2 separate regions of the Homo sapiens genome follow, and region 1 is linked to region 2. Evidence: promoter capture Hi-C in 16 types of primary human blood cells and fetal thymus (Javierre and others, 2016). All regions are on one chromosome and are shown on one strand. Each heading gives the region's core, a stretch centred on a gene start or on the middle of the fragment in contact. The rest is flanking DNA. Distances are from core to core; before and after follow the strand shown.

Evidence for each region. The method cuts DNA at HindIII sites, captures the fragments that hold promoters and counts their contacts. A CHiCAGO score of 5 or more calls a contact.
Region 1: a fragment that was not itself captured here is called in contact with the fragment with the promoter of MPP4 in region 2 in 1 of 17 cell types (endothelial precursors); the score reaches 7.0 in endothelial precursors.

The regions. Positions count from the first base shown.
Region 1 is chr2:201,453,059-201,457,312 of GRCh38, reverse strand. STRADB (STE20 related adaptor beta) reads right to left here. Exons shown (of 12, transcript NM_018571.6): 2 at 2,461-2,567. The coding sequence starts at 2,472. Among named protein-coding and RNA genes, the nearest start is that of STRADB, 3.4 kb to the right of the region's middle. The HindIII fragment of the contact is 3,133 bases long and covers 1,310-4,254 here.
Region 2 is chr2:201,696,019-201,700,612 of GRCh38, reverse strand. It overlaps MPP4 (MAGUK p55 scaffold protein 4), which reads left to right and starts at 1,969. Exons shown (of 22, transcript NM_033066.3): 1 at 1,969-2,026. ALS2 (alsin Rho guanine nucleotide exchange factor ALS2) reads left to right here. Exons shown (of 34, transcript NM_020919.4): 34 at 1-346. RefSeq lists enhancers at 338-837, 838-1,339. The HindIII fragment of the contact is 2,266 bases long and covers 1-1,984 here.

The DNA of each region.
Region 1 (4,254 bases), core at 1,627-4,126, 240 kb after region 2:
AATATCCACCAGCTGGGCAGGACATTTATATATTGTTTGGTATTTATATATTTTTACAACATTTAGCTTGAATTTTTCACAACGACCATTAATACCACTGTGCAAAAGAAGAATTAACAGCAGGCCTAAAACTGCTATTCTTAGAAAATAGCTGCTTATAAGGTTGACCCTTGGCTAGTATCTGGGAACTGGGATTTTGCAGAGGTTCCCTTCATAAGAATCGCTCACTGTGTCTAAACTGTTTGTGCAAATAATACAGTTTATGCTGAACACCTGGCTTTTTTTCTGGGAGACTGGAATTTTGTTACTTGCTAGCAGAGCACGCCTACGTGACAAGTCCCCAATAAAAACCTTAAGTCCAAGTCTCTAATGAGCTTCCCTAGTAGACAACATTTCACATGTCACAACTCTGGGGGAACTGTGCATATACTATGGAACTCCACTGAGAAAAGATTCTTGAAAGCTTGTGCCTGGTTTCCTCTGAACTTCACCCCACATACCTTTTCCCTTTGAATATTTTTGAATATAATTTCTTTATCCATTATCATAATAGCCAAGTAAAAAGTAGTTAGACCTTACAAAGAAACTGAAAGAAGATATTTTTACATATGCTGCTCCTTTGAAAACAGCATTTCTTAGTTCTCAAATAGAGGGTAAAACTTGAATGGGGAGGAATCCTTAAGTAAAAGTATCAACTTTATCCCAACTGCACAAATTTCTCGTTTAAGGAAAAAAAGTAAATATTTCGATTCAAAGAATTTAAAATATTTCACCATTGCAGAAAAATGTGATTTAAAGTTACAATCATTAACGATATAAATCACCCATTATCACATTCTATTATTTTTCACAAAACCCATAATTATGGAATAATAGGCTAAGATATTCTTTTTCCAAAATTTGAAAGCCCTGGGCAACACACAGCCCTTTGAATCTCACAATTCTCGCCTATCAAATGAAGGGAATAGACTGAATGCCCTTTCACATCTTTTCCAACTTAAAAATTGATATAAAATTGTAAATCTTAAGTAATCCTTTAGAGTAAGGGTCGGCAAACTATGGTCCATGAGCCAAATCTGACCCACCACCTGTTTTTGTGAGTAAAGTTTTACTGGAACACAGATACATTCATTCATTCATTTATATATTGCCTATGGCTGCTTTCATGCTAGTATTTCAGCAGAAAAGTAGCTGTAACAAAGACCAAAGGGTCTGTAAATACTATCTGGCCTTTACAGAAAAGCTTGCTGATCCCTCCTTTACAGAATAAAACATTTCACCTCCGTGTATTTTCCAGATATATAAAGCTTCTCTTTCAAGTGGTAATGCTTTACTTTAAACATGTAAGTAACTGTGTTATGTATTTTCCATATTACTAACAATCCAGTCTTCTAACTTCATAGTTCTGCCTCTCAGCCTTGGTAATTGATAGAATAGATTGGCAGGTATGAGTCTGGCTCCAACTTTTTGCAATCTTGGACAAACTGAAAATGAGGATAATGCCACCTGCCCTGCTAAACTTACACAATTTGAAACTATGAAAGAAATATATGAAAGTATTTGTAAACTATAAATCATCATACAAATATACTCATCCTTTTTTTTTTTTGAGACAGGATCTCCCTCTATCACCCAGGCTGGAATGCAATGGCATGATCACAGTTCACTGCAGCCTTGATCCCTTGTTCAAGGGATCCTCCCACCTTAACCCTCTGAGTAGCTGAGACTACAGGCATATGACACTACGTCTGGCTAATATTTTATACAGACAGGATCTCACTATGTTGCCTAGGCTGGTGTTGAACTCCTGGGTTCAACTGATTCTCTAGCCTTGGCCCCTAAAAATGCTGGGATTACAGGTGTGAGCCACTACACGTGGTCTACTCATTACTTTTTTAAAAACCACATTTTAATATAAGTATTCCCTATTCAAATATTATTATTATGTATAAAACAGGATGAAAGTCCTCAAGCTACTTAATCTAAAGTAGATACCACGGATCTAAATATAAATAGAAAACCAGTTGGCAGCTATACCTCATATATACATTGATCCAAATGATTTTATTTCGGTTAAGTCAAAGGGGTTATTTTTAATACTGTTTGGCTTGCTTTTGGTCAGATGGAAATTTGTAAAAGGAATTTCTGAAAGATTTAAAAGATAAGGCATAGCTAACTGGTGTGGGTGGCATATCAAAGTATAACACCTATGAGAAAAAGTAGATATGGGACAAAAGATTAGAATAATGAACATATTGAAGTATACGAGAAGTTCTTTATGAAAGAAAGAAAAACTCAATGAGAATGTAATTCATTTCTCAAGTCCAGAAGTCAATCAGGTCAAAACAATATCTCAGAGCATAAGAATATCCCATCAGAATATGCCTTTTATTATGGCTTGGCATTAACATCCAACTACTCTGACAGAACAAAATCAGATCTATATTTACAAAAACTTACCAAAAGAGACATTGAATCACTTTAGTTCACACAGAAAGTGACAAAAATCCATCTATTCCAAAGAAGGCTTTTGTTTTATCTTCCTTTCAAGATGCAGATATATCCTACTATAAAAAACAAAAGCAAAATAATTTAGATTCACATAAAAGTTCCTTAAAGAACCAGTTGCCTTAAACCCATCCAATATTTAGGCAGCTATTCCCTGATACCCAATATTTAGGCAGCTACTCCTTGACACAAGGAGACATTCCTGAAAAGTATCTTTAAAGAGCATTTATTTTTTACTGAACATTATTTGTGATCTGACATCACAACCAAGAAGCAGAGTGAAAACAAAAAGAAGTCCTGAATATTTCCAAAGCCTCAATATGTTTGCATTTCTCCTTCCCTATCTTTTCTATACTGTTTTTTGTTTGTTTTTTAAAGAACGCTGAGCAAATTTGAAAGCAATGTAGAAAACCAATTTTTGGCCCACTTTTGATATAAACAGTGTCACTTACAATAAACCCCAAGAATTTTCAATGGTTCCACATATTACAACTAAACTTTGAGACTTTCCAAAGCCCTTTCTTATTGGATTAATTACGTATTAAATCATTTGGGGTCCCTGACCAGCAAATATGGGAAAGAATCAGAATAACAGACTAGGAAATTAATTCAAGGAGATACAAAAGCACCATCCACGGTTTCCAGACCTTTACTAATAGAAAGGGTGGCAATCTTGTAAGTTTGTGGGTTCAGAGCATCCCTTTACATCTAACCAACATCATCTCTTTCATCTAAATTGTGCTTCATTATTTCAACTCCCCAAATTTGATGAACCCATCTACAAATATGTGAGCAGGATGAGAAAGGGAAGATTTTGTAAACCATAAAAACCATAAAGCAATATCCAATTTTATTGCTAAAGAAAGAGGTGAATTTATTCAGGATGTTCACTATGAACCAAAGGTAGAGATTGGGAGGAAGACGGACCTGAAAGGCTGTGATCATTTAGCCACCTACCATTCATTACCGTCAATTTAAAGCACTGGAGTTTGCTGTGCTGCAAAAGGAGGAAAGCAATGCCTGCCCTGCCAACCTTCCAGGGTGAATGAAATCAAATGAGTTACATCTCAAAGTGCCCCTAATTAGCAAACACTGTATCAGCTTGAACTATGCTTTGAAAGGTACACTCAAATGTACTGATGGCAGTACAAAACTATAAGGTTTATTTGGAAAGCAGGTTGTCAAATGTTTCAATAACCATGAAAATATTCATACTTTTTGACCCAGTAAAATTCCCCGGAGTGATCTATTCTAAGGAGATATCCAAGTAAATGAAGAAACTACACATCATAGTCAATACACTGTTAATCTGTTAACAGCCAAGTAATCATTACACAAGTGTTTAATGAGTGGTTACCATGGGTCAGGCACTGTGGACACCCGCTGGTAATCAGGGCAGACAAGACCCTGGCCACTTGTAGCTGACCTTCCCACAAGCAGAAGGGTTATGGATGTCATGATTAACCAAATTTTCTGGTTATCATGATTTTGTATCCTGCTTTTTTCACTCAATGTCAGCAAGTTGTTACTGATTTTGTCTTAATAATGTGAAACTCCATTACGTTGTCTATTTTTTTCTCTTTTTCAGAAAAGCTCAGAAGAAACAGACACAATCTGGTAAGAATTGTTAGTAATAAAAGGGTTGTCCCTATGGGGTGGTTTAATCTCAGAGATTTTTGCCTTAGATACACCAGACTATTAAGAGATAATTTTACAAGACATTTTGAGGTCAAGGCAGCAGCTGCA
Region 2 (4,594 bases), core at 720-3,219:
GTTTTGGAATGTTGGCTGTAATGTAACAGCAATTTTCATAATAAAAGGCATTCATCTTTATGTGGTTGTTTTATGATTGTAGAAGAAATGAACAGGGCAGCCTAAAAGATGAAAGGAAACCCAGACTTAGTATTTCTTTAGCCCACATTGTAATCCATGCCTCTAAGTATTGGCCTCAAAAGTCCCTCTGGGGTTTTAGAAATCTCTGTCTTTAAAATAAACGTAAACCAATAGTTATAGCACCCTTTCTAGCAAAGAGCAAATTAACTTTCTGACCCCAATAACCCAAGGACACGGGTCTCCAAAGAAATCTATTATTTCTTTGAATAAAAAGCATATTTTGATAGTTACTCGTTATTTTTTTTCCTCCTAAACAGATCGAGGGAAGGGAAGGTGAGGCTTTAAAATTCTGCTTAGAAACGTTAGATATTAATTATCTCCCAGTTGTAATGTTTTCTCAAGAGGCCTTTCCATCTTGTTGCTGCCTCTACCAGAATGTGCCTGTCCTCTGTTGGAAGGGGACCAACCCTTAAAAATCCGTTTATGTTAAATACTTTGCATTTACATTGGAGATTGTTTTGAGTTTCTGAACAAACACATAAATAACCACATTTGCCTGGTAAAGCCAAATTTACAGAATTTCTGACTCTGGGCGGGGGTGGATAATATGTGGAAATGGACAAACAAAAACTTTGAGACAAATTGACCCATTGAGAAGATTTCCAATGATGATAGGCTGTCTCTGTTCTAAGAAAAGCCATGTTACAATTCGTCCTTTTACTGGAGTCTTGAATGAAACTGTTCAGTTACTTTGGATTCTTCCTACTATATGCTTTTCAGATAGCATATTAAAGTTATAAATTTTGAAGTGTATTGGAAGAAAAACCCTAAATCTCCAGGCCAATGTTTGTAAATAGAAGTCCTTGGCACTCCTGCAGCAGTTTACAATGGTCATTCACATGCGTAATGAATGCTTACAGCAGCCCAAGGATGCAGGTGTTATCCCCATTTCCCCCCATTTTTCAGACAAGCAGTGACCAAGATTTGCTCACTGCCAGAGCTGGGACTCCAGCCTAGAACTTCCCTACTCCCTACTTCCCTAGAAGTCCAGTGCTTTTTGCTACTACAGCTGCCAGAGATGTCATTTCATAGCTGGTTATGTATTGAAAGTTCTTAAAAGTGAGTTAAAAATGAAAATCTTATTGAAATCAAGTGCTTTTCACAAAATATGCTGTACTCAAAACACAAATGTATCACATTCCCAACTTGTGTTTTCATCTATGATGGAGAGATAAGGAAAGCCATGTGATTAATATGGGTAGAAGGGCTGAGGACCCTCTGATAATTGCCATTTGGTCTCTACCTTTTGCCTTGCTGTCAGCAATACCTTCCTCTCCTTTCTGCAATATCCCCTTCCAAATGCTCTCCCCACTGAGCACTCCCTGCAGTATTAAGTTTTCAGATAAAGAAGTAGCTCCTATCTGAGACAGAAAGCACTATTTGTTAGGTTCAGAACAGTGGCTTGGGAGGGGATTGACCAGAAGGTACTGTTTTTGATGGGTTTCTATTATTAGCTGAACAGTCTTCAGTTGTTTTCTCACCATAACATGAGAGATTTAATAAGGTTAGTAGGTTATTGGCTTATTTCCGGTCCTGCCACATTTTTTTCTTTCATTAAAAATGCTATCTTCTGTTGTGGAATGTCTGTCATCTTGAACTAATCAACAAAAATACTATGTTTTTCTGCCGTTAACTATGTGTTGGCAATTTGAGAGAAAATACTAGAATGTAGGTTTGAAAATGATACAAATTAGACTTCAAGGAATACTTAAGAAGATTTGTGGCAGGAAAGGCTTGTGAGTAATTTAGTTGTTAGGCTGGGTTAGGCATCTGTGGATTACATCAAAGAGGATGTGCAGAGATTTTATCGGGAGCAGTGAGGTGACTTTGGCAGCTAACAGGCCACTAGTATCCTACTAAAGCTTTTGTCTGGATAGGAGCAACATGCATGTTTACAGTCTTGCAGGTAAGAGACCTTGGCAAATAATCCTCAGTTACCAGAAGATGTATCCATAACTGCCTAGCTTGCCTGTCAGTTTTTAATAGCTAAAGATATAAATCTGGGTAATCTAACTCAAATGGCTTAGTTTCATTTTAACTCAAATGATATGGGGAATTTTATGATCTTGAAAGAGCAGGTTTTGCTTCGAGAAGCCATTTCTTCAGTATGGAATAATGAGTTGTCAGGAAGATTGAGTACAATGGGCATTTGCCCTGGTCCTAATCAACAGCATTTGGACCCAGAGGAAGCCAGCTATTTTTGTAAGGGCCATTTCTCATCATTAAGTTTCCAAGTGCTTTTTTAGGGTTTGTCTAGTAAAAAGCACTATTTTGAAAAACAAGCATAGTAAGGGTAGGGGGTTGTGGCATTTAATAGTACGTTTTAAAAAGCTAATGGAAATACTTTTAAAACAAGATTTAGGACAAATTCCTTAGGCATCAGTCACACTAATGCATCTTCTGAGTCAAGAACTGGCTATCCTTTCTGTGTACTCAGTCCGGAATTGCATGTGGTGGGTGCTTACTTATTTGCAGTCTCAATCAAGAATTCTCACTCTCAAGATAGCAGAAATAGATAAGCTTCAACTGACAAATTTGGTACAGAAGTCATGGAAAGGAAGGTAAGTCTTTTGCCAGGCATCATGCCAGGCATCAGCATCTTTCAGGACTAAGGAAACAAAAGAGGAAAACTCGATTTTACTACATGTTAACTCTACTGAATACCTCCTTGAATGTCAGATTCCTTATCTGTAAAACAAAGGTTTTGCATTTGATTATCTCTAAGATCCGCTTCTGCCCCCAGTTTTAAAGTTTGATAGGGAAAGAGGTTTAAGTCAGGATACCAGGCCAGGGAGGAAAGGAAGGGAGGGCACAGGCCTCTGGAGTTCAGCTGCCTCCCCCATTAGGATTGAAGTCCCAGCTGCTGGCTACTGCCTTGAGGGAGGTATCAGCCTTTTACTTCTGGATCTTGGCCTCTCCTTGTTCTACCCCTTCCCAACAACAACTGAACATACCAAGTGCTTGCTATGGCCCAAGCACTGTTGCAGGTGAAGCTGCAGCATGAACAAGATAAGCAACATCTCTGCTCCCCAGGCCCTCTGCAGACATGACACCTGCGGGAGACAGACACTGAGCAAGCCAGTGGATACAAGAACTGGGAAAATGAGAAGTGCTATGAGGGCAAGAAGTTGCAACTGTTTTCTTAGCTACCTGGAGGGAGGGAAAATCATTTTCTGGAAGTTTTTTTCTATGAGTTTTGTCTTAGCTTTGGCTGTCATAACAAAGTACCATAGACAGTGGCTTAAACAACAGAAATGTATTTTCTCATACAGTTCTGGAGGCTGGAAGTTGAAGATTGGGATGCCAGCATGGTTGGGTTCTTGCGAGGGTTCTCTTCCTGGCTTTCAGATGGCCGCGTTTTCACTGTGCCATCATCTGGCAGGGAGAGAGAGAACACATGAACTCTGATGGCTCTTACCCAGACGCTAATGACATCTTGAGGCCTCTACCTCATGACCTTAACCCAGTTACCTCCCAAAGGCCCCATCTTCAAATGCCATCAACAATGGGGATTAGGGCTTCAACATCTGAATTGGGGGTGGGGACACAACATTCAGTCCACCATAAATTTGTCATAGGAACCTGAAGATGAGGAGCCAAGCACAGTTTTTAGAATTTGCATAAGTTGTAGATTACTGTAATTATTGTTTTTGCCTCTATGGCTGAGAAACTTTGGGTCAAAACGAGCCTTTTAGAATGTATGAATTAGTTATCTAGGTAGCCCTGAAGTTGGCTCTAGATTTATTAGAAGCTATTTTAACCATTGCATTCACTCAAGAAACCACCGCCTATCTGTGAAGCACAGTCTATCTGTAAAGCTCCCTCACAATAAATTCATCTCAGAAATATGTAGTCTCTAGTGTGTGCCCCCAACTGCTGAATGGGTAGGCCTAGCTCAGCACAGTCATTCGGGCATTAAATATGGCAGAAATGTGGTCCACCTCATGACGTGCAAACAACAGTTGGCTTGTTTAATCTGCACTGCTTTGCCAAGGACGTGTGATTTGTGAGGTGCTGGAGGGGAACCAATTTTAAGAGTCAGCCTGAGTGTCAGCCTCATCTGTCTGCTCTGACTTTTGTCTGCTCTCTAGCAGGCACTCCATCTCCCTTTTCAATTTTCTACCCTGGAAGTGCTCCCCTCCAGGGAGGAAGATGAGTCAGATATGCAGCTGTGATGCTAAATGATTCAATAGAGTCAAAAACAACACAGAACACAGGAAAACGCATTGTTTAATCTGACTCAATTACAAGTGGGCAAGGTAGGTGATGGAGGGCAAGTCAAAAGCATAACGATGTCAAGCTTTGGTAGAACCTAGCAAACCGGAAGACTTCAGGGTGTTTGGAAAGGAATGTGTAGGGGAAAGTTGTCTAAAATGCTGTAACAGCTTTCTGTGTTGCTCTTCTCACTGCCTTAGAATTTAGAGTCAAAATAATAATGATCTTTTCTTCTTTTAGATAGCCTTCCTGGCTTCAA